Regions from separate parts of the Homo sapiens genome. Here region 1 is linked to region 2. Evidence: promoter capture Hi-C in human tissues and cell types (Jung and others, 2019). All regions are on one chromosome and are shown on one strand. The core of a region is centred on a gene start or on the middle of the fragment in contact, and the rest is flanking DNA. Distances in the headings are between cores, read along the strand shown. Region 1 overlaps CHRNB1 (cholinergic receptor nicotinic beta 1 subunit). Region 2 holds the start of TMEM256 (transmembrane protein 256).

The links. The method cuts DNA at HindIII sites, captures the fragments that hold promoters and counts their contacts. A contact is called where the count stands out against the background at its distance.
Region 1: a fragment that was not itself captured here is called in contact with the fragment with the promoter of TMEM256 in region 2 in 1 of the 25 tissues and cell types used here (dorsolateral prefrontal cortex).

The regions. Positions count from the first base shown.
Region 1 is chr17:7,454,634-7,458,712 of GRCh38, forward strand. It overlaps CHRNB1 (cholinergic receptor nicotinic beta 1 subunit), which reads left to right. Exons shown (of 11, transcript NM_000747.3): 9 at 651-823; 10 at 1,161-1,308; 11 at 1,950-3,077. The coding sequence ends at 2,090. Among named protein-coding and RNA genes, the nearest start is that of CHRNB1, 12 kb to the left of the region's middle. RefSeq lists enhancers at 1,058-1,559, 1,087-1,166, 1,247-1,406. The HindIII fragment of the contact is 4,047 bases long and covers 1-3,438 here.
Region 2 is chr17:7,401,520-7,405,530 of GRCh38, forward strand. TMEM256 (transmembrane protein 256) reads right to left here and starts at 2,578. Exons shown (of 4, transcript NM_152766.5): 1 at 2,481-2,578; 2 at 2,139-2,170; 3 at 1,791-1,871; 4 at 1,456-1,690. The coding sequence starts at 2,565. The coding sequence ends at 1,547. It overlaps TMEM256-PLSCR3 (TMEM256-PLSCR3 readthrough (NMD candidate)), which reads right to left and starts at 2,612. Exons shown (of 10, transcript NR_037719.1): 1 at 2,481-2,612; 2 at 2,139-2,170. It also overlaps a transcript of NLGN2 not described here. RefSeq lists an enhancer at 2,387-2,566 and a silencer at 3,057-3,386. The HindIII fragment of the contact is 13,166 bases long and covers 1-4,011 here.

The DNA.
Region 1 (4,079 bases), core at 165-2,664, 52 kb after region 2:
CACAGTTAAGCTAGCCCCCATCATTATCATTTCACAGATCCCATACTCTCTTCATCAATACTGCCCATCTCGGGTCCCAGGGAAATATTCTTAGGGTTAGGTACTATCAGATTGGAAGCCCTCTCTTTCCAGTTGGGATACCTCCCAACCCACTAAATAGCTTTTTTTTTTTTTTTTTTTTTTTTTTGAGATGGAGTTTTGTTCTTGTGGCCAGGCTGGAGTGCAATGGCACAATCTCAGCTCACTGCAACCTTCACCTCCCAGGTTCCAGCGATTCTCCTGCCTGAGCCTCCCAAGTAGCTGGGATTACAGGCACCCGCCACCACGCCCAGCTAATTTTTGTATTTTTAGTAGAGAGAGGGTTTCACCATGTTGGCCAGGCTGGTCTTGAACTCCTGACCTCAGGTGATCCACCTGCCTTGGCTTCCCAAAGTGCTGCGATTACAGGCGTGAGCCACCGCGACAGGCCCAACCCACTAAAGAGCTCTTAGGTCTGTGTGGCTGCATTTCCTTGTGTAGCTCGTTTGTGGAAGAATATGCACGCACATACTCACGCGCGGGAATGGGCATGTGGAGTGGGGTGGTTGGCTGTTTCCCTTCTGGTCTGAAAGCATGAAAGCCCCCACCAATACGCCTCTTCTACTCTGCAGATCTTCATTCACAAACTTCCGCTGTACCTGCGTCTAAAAAGGCCCAAACCCGAGAGAGACCTGATGCCGGAGCCCCCTCACTGTTCTTCTCCAGGAAGTGGCTGGGGTCGGGGAACAGATGAATATTTCATCCGGAAGCCGCCAAGTGATTTTCTCTTCCCCAAACCCAATAGGTAGGACTACGCCCGTTACCCACATAAGAGGGAGAGGGAGAACTACAGTTCCCAGAAGAGTGTGCGGAAGAAGCGGCCCATGCTCTCGGAAGACGCTGTGGTTGAGCATCATGGGAGTTGTAGTACTCCTGCTGCTCACTTTGAGGGGAGGTGGGAACTAAAACAGAGGCGGTGGAAGAAGTTGCACAAGGCTAGAGAGATCACTGCTGGAGGGAAAAGCATGATGGGCTCTCGGGTTTTGAGAACTGGCAAGTTGTTGGAGGCAGCTGGAGCGGGGCCTGGGTCGCCGGCACTGGCTGTCTTTGCGTTTGGGCGTGGCCAGTCACTCCTCTTCCAGGTTCCAGCCTGAACTGTCTGCCCCTGATCTGCGGCGATTTATCGATGGTCCAAACCGGGCTGTGGCCCTGCTTCCGGAGCTACGGGAGGTCGTCTCCTCTATCAGCTACATCGCTCGACAGCTGCAGGAACAGGAGGACCACGATGCGGTATGTCCAACGGGGGTGGAACAAGGCCAGGTCTAGGCGACCTTGGCCCCACCCCCAAATTCCGCACCAGCACTCGCTTTCGTTTTTTTTGTGTGGTTTTTTTTTGGCTTTTTTTTTTTTTTTTTTTTTTTGAGACAGAGTCTCGCTCTGTCGCCCAGGCTGGAGTGCAGTGGCTCGATCTCGGCTCACTGCAACCTCCGCCTACGGGTTCAAGCGATTGTCCTGCCTCAGCCTGCCGAGTAGCTGGGACGACAGGGGCGCGCCACCACGCCTGGCTAATTTTTGTATTTTTAGTAGAGACGTGGCTTCACCATGTTGGCCAGGCTGGTCTGAAACTCCTGACCTCAGGTGATCCGCTCGCTTCGGCCTCCCAAAGTGCTGGGATTACAGGCGTGAGCCACCGCGCCCGGCCTCGCTTTCGTTTCTGATTGGACCTCTCCCTCATTTGGTCCCACCCCCTGCTTACCTACTGGTTCTTTATGCCCATGCATTGCCTGCAGTCTCGCTCTCCTGTTGGCGCTGCCGGCTGTTGCCTCAAACCAGTGGTAGGAGGACTCAAGCGGGTAGCGGGCGGGGAAATGGGGGGGTTTCCCTGGGGGTCTGGGCCCAGAGCTCAGGAAGTTTCCTTTGCCTACCCACAGCTGAAGGAGGACTGGCAGTTTGTGGCCATGGTAGTGGACCGCCTCTTCCTGTGGACTTTCATCATCTTCACCAGCGTTGGGACCCTAGTCATCTTCCTGGACGCCACGTACCACTTGCCCCCTCCAGACCCCTTTCCTTGAAGACTGGAGGGTTGAGACCCAGGCCCCCTGCCAGTTGAAGTGAGAGTTTGGTGATACTGTCAAGCCCTATCCTTCTCTGCCTCTTAACTCCTTCACGAGGAATCTGGGCCTCTTATTTCGTTTCTGGGGACTGCATTGGACTGAGGGCTGGGTAGGCAGGTGTCTTGGACCCACCTGAAATGCAGTATCATCTGATTTACTCTTTGGGATCTTGAAGAAGCTCTTTTGGGTATCAACACCTAGGTCGCCAGTGAAATAGAACACAGAACAGGAACTAGATTATAAGCCTTATGAGGTCAAGAAATGTGACTTGGCCGGGCGCGGTGGCTCACGCCTGTAATCCCAGCACTTTGGGAGGCCAAGGCGGGCGGATCACCTGAGGTCGGGAGTTTGAGACCAGCCCGACCAACATGGAGAAACCCTGTCTCTACTAAAAATACAAAATTAGCCAGGTGTGGTGGTACATGCCTGTAATCCCAGCTACTAGGGAGGCTGAGGCAGGAGAATCACTCGAACCCGGGAGGCAGAGGTTGCAGTGAGTCAAGATCACGCCATTGCACTCCAGCCTGGGCAACAAGAGCGAAACTCCATCTCAAAAAAAAAAAAGTGTCTTGTTCACTGCAGCATGCCCAGTGCCACGCACAGGTGCTGACCTATAGTAAGTGCTTAACATTTGTTGAATAGGGGAAAGAAATTTCCGGAAGTAAATACAGCAATTAATAATGTTTATAAGCTGGGCATGGTCGCTCAGGCCAGTAATCCCAGTGACTTAGGAGGCTGAGGTGGGAGGATTACTTGAAACCCACAGTTTGAGACCAGCCTGGGCAACATAGTGAGACCCTGTCTCTAAAAAAATAAAAATAGAAATAAAGTAGTGCTTATTGTTTGCATGTTGGGTCTTGTGGTCGTTTTCTTTTTACCTTTCTGTAATTTATTATGTTTTGTAATGTGTACTATCTCTGGGATTAAAAAAAGTTATTTCTACAAGCATGCATTGGTAATGAGAAAAAACAAGCGTTTTGAAGGCCTTCATTCAAGTTCCAACCTTGGTGCTCACACAAGCCACTAGCTTGCTCTGTACTTGTTTCGACATCTGTAAAATGAAACTAATGATAGCATATGCCCTATAGGATTGTCTGGGGATCACAGGAGATGGGAAAAAAGCACTATGCGATATGTATCAGAGGTTGCAACGGTGTGTTTTTTGTTTGGCCTGCACAGTTTTAAATTTGAACTAGTTCACTACTTTTATTTTTTATTTTTTTTCAAGACAGAGTCTCGCTGTGTTGCCCAGGCTGGAGTGCAGTGGCGGGACCTCGGCTCACCACAACCTCTGCCTCCCGGGTTCAAGTGATTCTCCTGGCTCAGCCTCCTGAGTACCTGGGACTGCAGACCCACACCACCATGCCCAGCTAATTTTTGTACTTTTAGTAGAGATGGGGTTTCACTATGTTGGCCAGGCTGGTCTAGAACTCCTGACCTCGTGATCTGCCCGCCTCGGCCTCCCAAAGTGCTGGGATTACAGGCGTGAGCCATCACGCCTGGCTACTAGTTCACTGCTTTTAAAATGTGGATATTTCATGAGAAATTTGGCTTCCTGGCTTCTCTTGAAAATAATCTTATTTAAAAAAAAACTATAGAGACAGGGTCTCACTATGTTGCCCAGGCTGGTCTTGAACTTCTGAGCTCAAGTGATCCACCTGCCTTGGCCTCCCAAAATGCTGGGATTACAGGTATGAGCCATCACACCCAGCCTCAAAGATAATTTTAAAAACTATAGTAGTCCGGGCGTGGTGGTTTATGCCTGTAATCCCAGCACTTTGGGAGGCTGAAGCAGGCAGATCACGAAGTCAGGAGTTCGAAACCAGCCTGACCAACATGCTGAAACCCCGTCTCTACTAAAAATACAAAAATTAGCTGGATGTGGTGGCGTGCACCTGTAATCCCAGCTACTCAGGAGCCTGAGGCAGGAGAATCGCTTGAACCTGG
Region 2 (4,011 bases), core at 1,328-3,827:
AGCCTGGCCAACATGGCAAAACCCCGTCTCTACTAAAAATACAAAAATTAGCCGGGCGCGGTTGCGGGCGCCTGTAATCCCAGCTACTCGGGAGGCTGAGGCAGGAGAATCACTTGAACCCGGGAGGCGGAGGTTGCAGTGAGCTGAGATCGTGCCACTGCACTCCTGCCTGGGTAACAGGGCAAGACTGCGTCACAATAAATAAATACTGTCCCCACTAAATATCTTCCAGTTCTCTACATGCTGTGACTGCCACTCCAGCCTGTCCTGCCACCTTTTCTCACTCCTTTCCTACCTAACTCAAACTCAGCCCACATTGAAGACTCCTGCTTCTCCAAACCCCTCCCCTCTCCATCTTGTTCTTTGTTCATTGTTTCTTCCATACAATAGAGCTCCTTTAAGGATCATCTCAAGCATTGTGACACATTTTCTGATCCCCAATACATGATCTGTCCCTGCTTTGAACCCCAAAGTATTTTGTAACTAATGACACTCCTATCCTGCCTTGCCTTAATCCTCACTTCTAGAGTAAGTGGGTGCTGATAACAACAGGGCTGAAAACCATGACCCTATAGTAATTTTTTAAAATCCCAGTACTTTGGGAGGCTGAGGCGGGTGAATTGCTTGAGGTCAGGAGTTCAAGACCAGCTTCGCCAATATGGTGAAACCCCATCTCTACTAAAAATACAAAAATTAGCCAGGCATGGTGGCATGCACCTATAATCTCAGCTACTTGGGAGGCTGAGGCAGGAGAATCACTTGAACTCAGGAGGTGGAGGTTGCAGTGAACCAAAATCGCACCACTGCACTCCAGCCTGGGCAACAGAGTGAAACTCTGTCTCAAAAAAATAAAAATAAAAATAAAAACAGGCCGGGCGTGGTGGCTCATACCTGTAATCACAGCACTTTGGGAGGCCAAGGCAGGCGGATCACCTGAGGTCGGGAGTTCAAAACCAGCCTTGCCAACATGGCACAACCCCGTGTCTACTAAAAATACAAAAAATTAGTTGGGCATGGTGGCAGGCGCCTGTAATCCCAGCTATTCAGGAGGCCGAGGCAGGAGAATCGCTTGAACCTGGGAGGCAGAGGTTGCAGTGAGCCGAGGTCGCGCCACTGTATTCCAGCCTGGGCGACAGAGCAAGACTCCATCTCAAAATAATAATAATAATAATAATAAAATTAAAAACCTAGTATGCATCAGAACCACAAGATGAGCTTATTAAAATACAGATTCTCAGGCCCGAAAGAGTGCTTCAGTAGGAATCTGTGTTATTTCAAGCATTCTTTATGACTTTGATGCCCACCAGGGTAAGAACATTATAATAAGTTAACTTAAAGTGACCAGAATCCCCAGACCTAAGGCTCACTGATTAAGTCTTAGGAAATGGAGGGAGTTCAGAGGTTGAATCCCCACCCTTCGTCCTCCAAGAGGTTAGATGAACAAAGACTCCAAAGTTTATTTGCCTTTCCTTTTTAATCCTCTTCTTACTCCAACTCTTTAAAAAAAAAACTGCCCAGAAAACCCAGTAATTAAGCAAAAGGGAGCTCAAAGAGCCAAGGCAAGCCAGCCCAAGAGTAGCAGGGTCCCTCCCGCAGGGGCCAAAGTCTGGATGCTGGGGTCTCCACTCAGAGCCTGGTAGTAAAAGCTGGTGCAGAATAAGGTCGTTCCGGAAGCTAGCAATAACCCAGCCTGAAGGAGACACAGCACAGAAAACAGGATTGTTAAGAACAGGGCAGGCTGAGAGGGAGTGTGTGGGGCTTGGTCAGGGTTAGGCGCAGGGAAAGATTACCCAGAGTGGCTTTCTGCAATGGGGCACCCCTAACAGGGCCAGGCTGTGTAAGAAGTGGTGTTTGTTGGCCTTGTCAAACAGCTGTAAGAAAAACAGAAACGAAGGGATGTCGTAGGCAATACAGGTACTGAGATCCCCTGATGACACAAGGGACCAAAGTTCCTTCCCCCACCCCACCCTTGAAGTCCCAGCTTGATCCCAGGCCTTTGGCTTACAGAGCCTTTGGCCTTTGCTGCTCCAGAGATCCGCGGCTCGCCCCACCCTCTCCCCGCCCACTTCCCCCAGGGACCCCAGACTTTGTGCCTTCGTAGACCCACGAGTCAGGGAGCCCCAGCGCAGTTACTTCACCTCCTTCCCGTAGGCATCTGGGAATTGGGCGCCTGTGGAGAAAAGAAGCAAAGGTTAGCGGTCCTAGTGCCAGCCCTGACCGCCCCCAATCCGGGGGGACCCAGGTGGACATTGGCGAGAAAGGGCACCCCCCCCCCCGCCCCAGGAAGCTTCCGATTGGTGGGAACACGCTCGGGCAGTACTGGGAACCAATTGGACCCAGCTGGGGGACTTTAAAAGGTTTAGGGCTCCGCGGACTGTCTGATAAACGAGAGGCCGGGCACCTCCCATAGGTTACGCCCTTGCAGCAGACCCCAGAGGACGCCCCAAGTACAGTCCCATCTTCGTCCCCAGCCCCCTGACCGTGCGCCCCGTAGGAAGCGAAGCCTAAGGCCGCAGCTCCGGACAAGGCGCCCAAGCGGCGGAAAGCTGCAGCTGGCCCGGCCATAGCTGTAGAACAGGACGCACCGGACCAACGCCGCCCAGGCCACCCAAGAGGCCAGCCAATCCCGACCGCCCATGCAAATAAGGTTCACAGGCGCCCAATCCGGGCCGTGTTCATTTCAGCATTGCGCTCTTCACCCGCCTTTGTAAAACCGCTGCAGAGTGGCGAAGACGTCTGGCGGGCGGAGAAACCAGCACCAATTAGGAACAGAGGAGCTAAGCAGTGGGGGGGCGGGGTTGAGGGCGGGACTAGGGGGATTTGCGTCAAGGATTGGCCCACTTTCCAAGTTGATCGCCTCTTCGAACCCCCCACCCCCATGCTCCGGCCAATTTCCAAAGATCCCGGTCTTCTCTCAAAGTTCCGCCCCTTTTTCCACAGGCTCCTCCTGTTCAGCTTCAAATCAAACCCACTACCAAAAAGAGGCGGCCCGAAAGATAGCAAAGCCCCACCTATTGCCAGTAAACCCCGCCCACTGCACAAATGGCCCCTCCCCCATGTCTGAAGGCTCCGCCTTCTTTGTATGATGCCCCGCCCCCTGTAGTTAAGATATTCTCCCCCCCGCCAGCCCTCCGAGACCGCGAGAGCCCCGAGGGTGGGAGATCCGGGGGAATGTCTCCACCCTGCCCTGGCCCGCTACGTCCATCTGTCCGTCTGTCCGCTCCCGCCTCTTCCCACCATCTCCAATCCCCCCATTCTCCGGAGGGCGGGCGGGCAGGCGGGTGCGAGCGGGGGGTGCGAGCGGGGGGTGTGCGCCGCTCTCTCGGCAGGGGGCGGGGGAGGCGGCCGCGCGGTGACGCGCGGGGCTGCTGCGGCTGCTCCGCCGGCGGATCATCACTCTCGGGCTGGGATGGACGCGGGGCGGGCCGGCCCTGGCGCGCGGAGCCAGGAGTCCGGGCCTCCCGGCTGCTGAGCGTCCCTCGAAGCCTCCCCTCACCCCCGCCTTCCCTCCTAGGATCCGCGCTGACCCCCGCCCCGGGGCTCTGGACTCGGCTCCCGCCCTCCTCTGACTCCCCGGACCTCCCCCTCACGCCCGCCCTCGGGATCGACTAGATCCCTCCCCCTCCCCGAGGATTCCGGCTGGATCCCTGCCCCTGCACCGCGGATCCTGCGCTCCCGGGCCCCGGGCCCCTGGGGATTAACGTGGACTCCTCCTCCAGCACCCGATCCTTAGGATCCTCCGCCTGGACCGCCTTCTGGTCCCTCGAAGCCGGCCCACGGAACCAGCGGATCCTCAATCTAGTCCTGTCCCGTTGCCCCCTCCTTTCTCTATCGTCCCTACTGCGGGGTTCCCTGTTCTCGGGCTCCCCCTGATCCCATCCCCTAGCTCTCCTTTTCCCGGGGATCGACTGGATCCCGGCCCCGCCCCCCGGGGCTGGGGCGATCCCCCTCCCCCGCCGGGTGAGGCGCTGCGGGCGGGGGCTGGGCCTGCGGGGCCGCGGGGGCTCAGAG